2 separate regions of the Homo sapiens genome follow, and region 1 is linked to region 2. The links are contacts of gene promoters, found by promoter capture Hi-C in blood cells and fetal thymus (Javierre and others, 2016). All regions are on one chromosome and are shown on one strand. The core of a region is centred on a gene start or on the middle of the fragment in contact, and the rest is flanking DNA. Distances in the headings are between cores, read along the strand shown.

What was found. Contacts are between HindIII fragments. The CHiCAGO score rates a contact against its expected background, and 5 or more counts as called.
Region 1: a fragment that was not itself captured here is called in contact with the fragment with the promoter of SLC25A36 in region 2 in 1 of 17 cell types (activated CD4 T cells); the score reaches 5.4 in activated CD4 T cells.

What each region holds. Positions count from the first base shown.
Region 1 is chr3:143,975,872-143,979,697 of GRCh38, reverse strand. All of the region lies in intron 1 of DIPK2A (divergent protein kinase domain 2A), which reads right to left. Among named protein-coding and RNA genes, the nearest start is that of DIPK2A, 6.0 kb to the right of the region's middle. The HindIII fragment of the contact is 1,255 bases long and covers 1,628-2,882 here.
Region 2 is chr3:140,939,315-140,943,235 of GRCh38, reverse strand. It overlaps SLC25A36 (solute carrier family 25 member 36), which reads right to left and starts at 1,400. Exons shown (of 7, transcript NM_001104647.3): 1 at 1,141-1,400. The coding sequence starts at 1,181. RefSeq lists enhancers at 247-476, 116-963, 1,057-1,426. The HindIII fragment of the contact is 2,098 bases long and covers 379-2,476 here.

The DNA of each region.
Region 1 (3,826 bases), core at 1,006-3,505, 3.0 Mb before region 2:
AAAACACAAAACAAAAAACACTTCACTTGTTCACAAGTTTTAAATATGCATAAGTTTACTAGTCTCAACTGACCCTTACTGTGTCCCAGGGGTATATACAGATCAGTTCCTGGCACTATTGACCAATTCCACATAATTACTGTCAGATCTTTTCATTTCAGAGTTAACCCCCAAAAAAGCATTAGAAAGAAAAAATACGAAGACACTGAAGCATCATACTTACTTCAGATTACAAATCTTTTAAGATTCTGTCTCAGAGTCTAAGGTCTAGACTTAACCTGTTTTTTTGTACTACCATTTACCAATGTACTAAATAGAATTACTAAACTATAATAATGATTTACAGAGAAAAAAAGAAACTATTTGCCTTTTACTTCTTAATCCTTATCTAAACCGTCTTTCCTACCATATTCATTCTATTCATTACACTTCATATGAGACAAATCCCTAATCCCCTTTTAAACTACTATTTTTAAAAAACTATAGCCTGAATAGGTACATATGATTTACGTATATGTAAGGACAGTGACATTTGAATGTCTGCAATAAGAAAAGTAGGATTTTTACATTTCTAAGACAGACATCAGCATAATGTACTAAAGAACTTTTAACTACTATAGCTGTCTAAAAATGGAATAAGCTGATTTTCAAAGAAATAATACACTGTAAAAAGCTTTACAACTGAAAACATTTAACAGATATTACTTGAATAATCCTTTCTTCTTTAATCTTTAAAACAATCCTGTTAGGTAAGTATTAACAACCCCATTTTACTGATTAAAAAAACTTAGAATCGGAAACATTAAGTGACTTGCTCAATACCATCCAACAACTTTGTGGTAATACAGAATGTGAAATGGATGCTCTATCAATACTGCCCCCTCCACCCTTCCTCCCACTCTCCACCCCCATCTATTGGCAAAATCTCTGAAACTTTCCCTGGTACCATTCCTATCAATATACAATGAGATGTCCCTCCCTGAGTCATGTGACAGTATATATATATATATATATAGATATATATATATCTATATATAGATATATATATATATATATAGATATATATATATATATAGATATAGATATATATATATAGATAGATAGATAGATATAGATACCTTTTGTACAGGGCTTATTAAATGGATTGTATAATAATTAGTTATTTGTGTACCTACCTCCTACATAGTAAGCTACTTGTTTCCTACGGCCATCTTTCCATCCTTTCAATCCAAATGCCTTGTAACAGATTGTAAAATGAACAGACAAATTCAGTTCTTTTGGTTATAAATTCAAAGAGCTCTCAAGAATTTCACAGACAACTTCCTATCACCTTATACTAACCTCACCTTACACTAATAATTTTCAGTCATGTTACAACCATTTACTAAAGTTCATCAAATGTATTAGAAAAATGCAGGATTTAAATTATAAGGCCATAATTTAACATATGGGTAATGAGTGAAAGCTGAAGAAAGAAAAAAATAGCATTCTGTGAAGAGTCAGCAGCAATGACAGAAAAATAGGAAGTAAGCCAGAGCCCACAAACCAAAAAAACAGAATAAAAACCAGTCTGACAATCCCCTGAGAAGCTGGACACCCATGTCCAGAAGACCTATAAAAACAAGCTTTCTATTTCCCAACATGTGTGAGAATATGTGCTAACCTATGCAATGGAAATATAAAGAATAGTTCAAAGACTAGACAAAAGTATACAAAGGACAAAATTCAAAATGGTCAAAAGATATGGATATGTCCAGAAACTAGTCCAGGATGTCAAATGACTTTGCTCTACTGATTCTGAAGTGATGCTTTCTTAAGGGCGATTGTCTGTTTCTAGGGTCTTTCTAAAATAAAAGTCCCCACCCCCTTTTTGGACTTGAGGTATCCAAAATTGTTTTATTATTTTTGTTTGATTATCTTGAAGAGCAATCAAAAGTGTCAATGGACTCTCAGATGAAAAGCCACAAAAAGTTCAAAAACTTACAAAATTTATTAGATTAAAAACTGCTCTACTAAGAACCATCTCTAATGTGTTCTGAAGCCGAAATCTAGGAAGACAGTTACTAAAGAAACAGCCAGTAAAGGAGAAGTAGGTGGTTCCTTAAACTGTTGTTTGAAAAGAAACTCCTGAAACAAAGTCTGGAACATCGTTTTGCACACTATTGCCTCACAAGATCCTTGGCTACCCTTAACTCCACATATTTCCCCTTAAAGGAAGGTTTTGGTTTTTGTTTTATTTCATGTGTGTAAAAATTTGGGGGTAGGAAGAAAGGCTTGAAAGAGAGCATCCCACTCCCAATCCCCTTTCAGAAGAGCTTAATTAAACCCACTCGTTAAAGTTCAAAAGAAAACAACAACAACAACAACAACAATAAAAACCAAATTTCTCAAGAGTTTGAAAGCCCCAGAATGTTGGAGCTGAAAAGGATCTAATCCAATAGCTTCATTTTATAAAGAAGGAAGTGAGTCCAATAGTAAAAATCTATCAACTTTTCTAAAGTACCGTTAGCTAAATAATCTTTTGTTTACTTCAAAAACTACATTTTCACCAGTGAACTTAAAAAATATGTTGTTCCCTATATAAATTACTTTTAAAGGCAAAAACAACATTCACTGAAAGTTTTCTACAAAAAATTATATCAAAGTAATAATGGAAAAAAATCAGTATAACTAAAGTATGGTTGATATTCAAAATCACCATTATTTTTAAGGTGATCCATACCCCAAATGAGCTTCAAAACAGCTGATCAAATGCACCAGGCAGTTAAAGTTACCTTTACTTTATTCAATATCTAACATTTATTGAATGCTTACAATTTACCAGATACTACGTGAAGTGCTTTGCATGTATTATATCATTTATAAGAATAGAAAAGCAAGCTTAAAAACCATAGCTTAATGATAGTCATATACTATAAAAATAAAGTAAATCCTATTAAAACCATGATTCAGAAAATTTAAGGCAAATGAAGTTCCACAAATAGTAACATTCCCAGCTCGTCCCCCTAAACAACAAAGAGCTTTCTCCATTTCCTACAAACAAGACCATCTTCACTACTTCCAGGTTATAAAGTCAGAGATTCTGTCTGAACTTCAACAAATCCAGACAGCATCTCTCTCTCTCTCTCTCTCTCTCTCTCTCACACACACACACACACACACACACTCTCCCTTTCTGTAAATTCAATAGGTTAAATACAAATACGATGGAAAATTTATCAACAATAACTTGTGATCTTGCCAATTACTTCAACAACTCAATTTTTGAATACTTCAAGATTCCTATTTACACAATATAAAAGTCAACATAGTTCCTCTCCTCCATTTTTTTTTTCATAGGATTACAGTATACCTGGCACTAAAATACACACATCTTAGTGAAGTAAAAATGTGACGACGAGGAAAGGGTATCAGAGTAGAAGATAAAGGTACTACTAGCATTATCTTGTTGCTTGATGTTTATAAACATTTTTTAGAAGATAATAATTCTATGGGTAAACTGTTGTAAACTAGTGAAACTATCCAACAATAAGAAGAAAGCCATACTCTCATGCCATTTCATATGGGGAAATTTATATCACAAATCTTTACAGCCTTACATAGATAAGGTATGTGTGTAAACATCTTAGACACTTAATGTCTTTCACCTCTCCTTTCAAGGAATAATAGCAACTTCAATTTTTTACTGTTTTTTCAAATCAGAAGAGGTGAGTTTAATGGATTAAATTCGTAAGTATTTTTCAGTTCTTAAACACCTTATCAAAAGAAATTTTTACATGCTTATTTTGAAGCATGCTTACGATACTGGAAGTTTTGTTAAGAATAC
Region 2 (3,921 bases), core at 151-2,650:
GATCTAAAAACTGCAGGATTTAAGAAGATGCCGGTAAGAGTCTCAGCATAATTCACCGAAGGCATTTTTGATAAGAAAACTCTTTATAATCCTCCAAATAAGTAACTCTTAAAATTGCTATGATTCTCCAAATGATTTAGAAGGAGCAAATCTAAACAGGAGGCTAAACTGGAAGCTCTAACACTCATTTTGGCAATCAGGGAACTAAGACTTTAGGCTTAGTCCTAATCTTGCACACACATAGTAACTATTAACACTATCTTCAAAAAATCTGACCTCTCTCCACTCCTACTTTCTCCTAAGCAGCAGAAAAGCAAGCGGTGTTCAAGAGGGGTGGTTTTCTCGAAAGGAATCTGACCCCAAAGGTACTGGAAAGCTTTGCACCCCATTCACCACCTGGAAAACCTCGGGCAAGAAATTTTCCAAGGGCTAGAAACACCCTACAGCAACCACGGGAGAATACCAAAGCCTTCCCCGCTCGATCCCGTAGCCCCCTTACCACCCACCTTGCAAAGCCGAGCCCGGAAATGAGCGGCCCGAGGTCCGAGGTGGGGCGTGAGTGACGTGCAGAGGCCCAAGCGAGCGCTGCAAGGAGCGAGGGCTAAAGGAGTCTCCGGCGCCCATTTTGTCCTCAGCCTCCGCACTTTCCGCCCCGTCCCCTTGGGCCATGCAACCTACGCGAAATCCGAAGCCAGGCTCCTCAAAGCGGCCCTGGATCCCCGACGCCTGCTAGATTGCGGCGTGCGGCCAGGTCCAGCGGCGTCCGGGTAATCAAGCGCCGACCCCAGCTCTTGCCCGCGTCTCCTCAGACGCATGGATTCGGCCTCCGCCTCACCCCGGCCCCGCGGGCCCAAAACCTCACTCCCGGCCCGGGTTTCATGCCTCAACCCTCTTTGCCCGGGCCTCACTCTCTCGCCCTCGGGCCCGGGCCTCACCCCCTTGCTTCCCCGAACCGGAGCCCCCCTCACCACCCACGGGCTGGGTCGCTCCCCTCACCCGCAGGCCCGTGGCAGCTCCCCGCCCAGGCCTCACTCCCGCCCCCCCACCCCCCCACCCCCCTCGGCCCCCCTCGCCCCCCTCGCCTGCGTCTTCGGCCCCAGCACCCTCAGCCCCAGTGCGCACGCCCCGCCAGGACCTTACCCTCCGGCAAACAGATGCACCAGCGTGTCCCTCTGGCTCATTCTCTCTCCCGCATGTCCTCCGGCCGCTGAGGCGGGACGCGGATCTGGCCGCCCGCTACGGCAGGCGGCTTCGGTCCCGGACTGGAGACGCACAGCGCCCCGGGGACGGCGAGGAGAGCTGGCCGAGATGCGGCTGCAGAAAGCAACCGGCACAGCCCTCCCCGCGGCACTCCAGCCGCGCCACCGCCTGCCTAAGCGCGCCGCCCTTCACCAGAGGCTGAAAGCGACGCAGCGCAGCGCGACGGAGAGTGGGCGGGGGATGGTAGGGGGAAGATGACTATTTGATGGCTCCCGACATAAACAGAGGCTCCCATTGGTGTGAGCGTCGTGACGTCACGCACTCTGCAGTGTTCTTTCACGTGATCCCTACGGGCTCTTTCAATGAAAGGGGCCGCGAGGCGTGGCCAGAACGCGTGCCCGGAGGGTGGTAGGTCACCGCGCTCCTAGCACCTGAGACCTGGGGCGCCCCTGGCCTGAGTGAACGCGCCAATCACGGCTGCACTCTCCTGAACAGGGAACTGGCGGGGCGGGAAAAATCGACTTGGTTCCGGGTTCGCAAGCGGATTTACTTTGAAAAAATTGGATTTATGACCCAGCAGTTCCCTTGGTGTCTATCTCAGAGTAACCCTCGCACAATGCATAAAAAGGTTTGTGCACGGATACTCCTATATAGGCTCACAAACAGTACAGAATTATGAACAATGCTTGCAGTTGCAGAAAATTGAAATCAGTGGGGGAATGAAGAAATAAATCATGAAACATTCCTACTATGGAATATTATGCAATCGTGACAAGGGATGAGGTGATTCCATATGGCAAAAAATCTCCCGAAGTGTGTAATAAGTAAAAAAGGCAAGTAGAATTAAAATACTTGGGTTTGTTTTTAAAAGAATAAAAGTTCATGGGAAATGGAATTAAAAGATAAAATTTAAAAATATAAACTTTGTTTTTCAACGTAAGCTCCATCAAGTTAAAGACAGTTTGGTAAGTGATGATACCGGCTCTTTAGTCCATCTGTAAAGAATTGAGGGTTCTGGGAATTTAATCATGAAAATGCAGGCTTTTTTACGTTATTAACTGAAGAAAAATGGGTGCCATTTACAGATTTTTCACGATTAGAAAACAAAAATATGTCAGAAGGAGCCAGGTCAGGAATGTAAGATGGATACCTGATAGTTTCCCATCGAAATCCCTGGAAAAATGCCCTTATTTAAAGAGAGGAATGAGCAGGAACATTGTCCTGATGGAGAAGGACTCTCTGGTGAAGATTTCGTAGGTGTTTTTATGCTAAAGCTTTGCTTCACTTTCTCCTATAGTAAGCGGATGTTATTGCTCTTCCACCCTCCAGAAAGTCAACAGGCAAAATACCTTGAGCATCCCAAAAAGCTGCTGCTATGACTTCGGCTCTTGACCAGTCTACTTTTGATTTGACTGGACCACTTGCACCTCTTGGTAACTATTGCTTTGATCCAGAATCATACTGAGAAAGCTATGTTTGATCTCCTGTTACAATTCTTCAAAGAAATGTTTCAATATATGATCCCACTTGTTTACAATTTCCATTGAAAGCCCTGCTCTTGTCTGCAGCTCATCTGGGTGCAACAGTTTTGCACCCATCGGGTGAAAAGTTTGCTCAACTTCAGTTTTTCAGTGAGAAATGTGTAAGTAGAACCAGTTGAAATGTCTATGGTGTTGTATATTATTTGTGCTGTTAATTGTGGGTCCTCTTCAATTAGGGCACACCGAAGAATAATCTTTTCCTCAAAAATCGATGTGGATTGTCTGCCACTGCAGGCTTCCTCTTCAACATTGTCTCATCCCTTCTGCAAACAAGTTATCCATTTGTAAACTTCAGATTTCTTTGGGGGAATTTTCCCCATCAAACTTTTGTAAAGCATCCTTGATTTCACCATTCTTCCACCCAATCTTGACCATAAATTTGATGTTTTTTCTTGCTTCAATTCATGCTGCTCTGATAGGGGCTGTTTTCAAGCTGATGTCTTATCCTTTTTAGTGCCTCAAACTAGATCTTGTTCAGATACATTATAACAAGTGAGTACGAATTTTTGGTGCAAAAAAGTTTGAAATTCATACATAGTTTTTTTTTTAGTTAGGAAAAATGTTTATATAAATTTAAATTTACATATATTCCATCCTTCTCTTAACTGAAAAGAGTAAGAAACTTTCTGAGATTTTCTTTGTTACCAGTTCCTTTTTTTTTTTTTTTTTTAATATACTTTAAGTTCTGGGATACATGTGGAGAATGTGGAGGTTTGTTATGTAGGTATACATGTGCCATGGTAGTTTGCTGCACCCATTAACTCGTTGTCTACATTAGGTATTTCTCCTAATGCTATCCATCCCCTTGCCCCCCAACCCCCGACAGGCCCCAGAGTGGATGTTCCCCTCCCTGTACCCATATGTTCTCATTTTTCAACTCCCACTTATGAGTGAGAACATGGGGTGTTTGGTTTTCTGTTCTTGTGTTAGTTTGCTGAGAATGATGGTTTGCAGCGTCATCCATGTCCCTCCAAAGGACATGATCTCATCTTTTTTATGGCCGCATAGTATTCCATGGTGTGTATGTGCCACATTTTCTTTATCCAGTCTAACATTGATGGGCATTTGGGTTGGTTCCAAGTCTTTGCTATTGTGAATAGTGCTGCCAGAAACATACGTGTGCATGTGTCTTTATAGTAGAATGATTTATAGACCTCTGGGTATATACCCAGTAATAGGA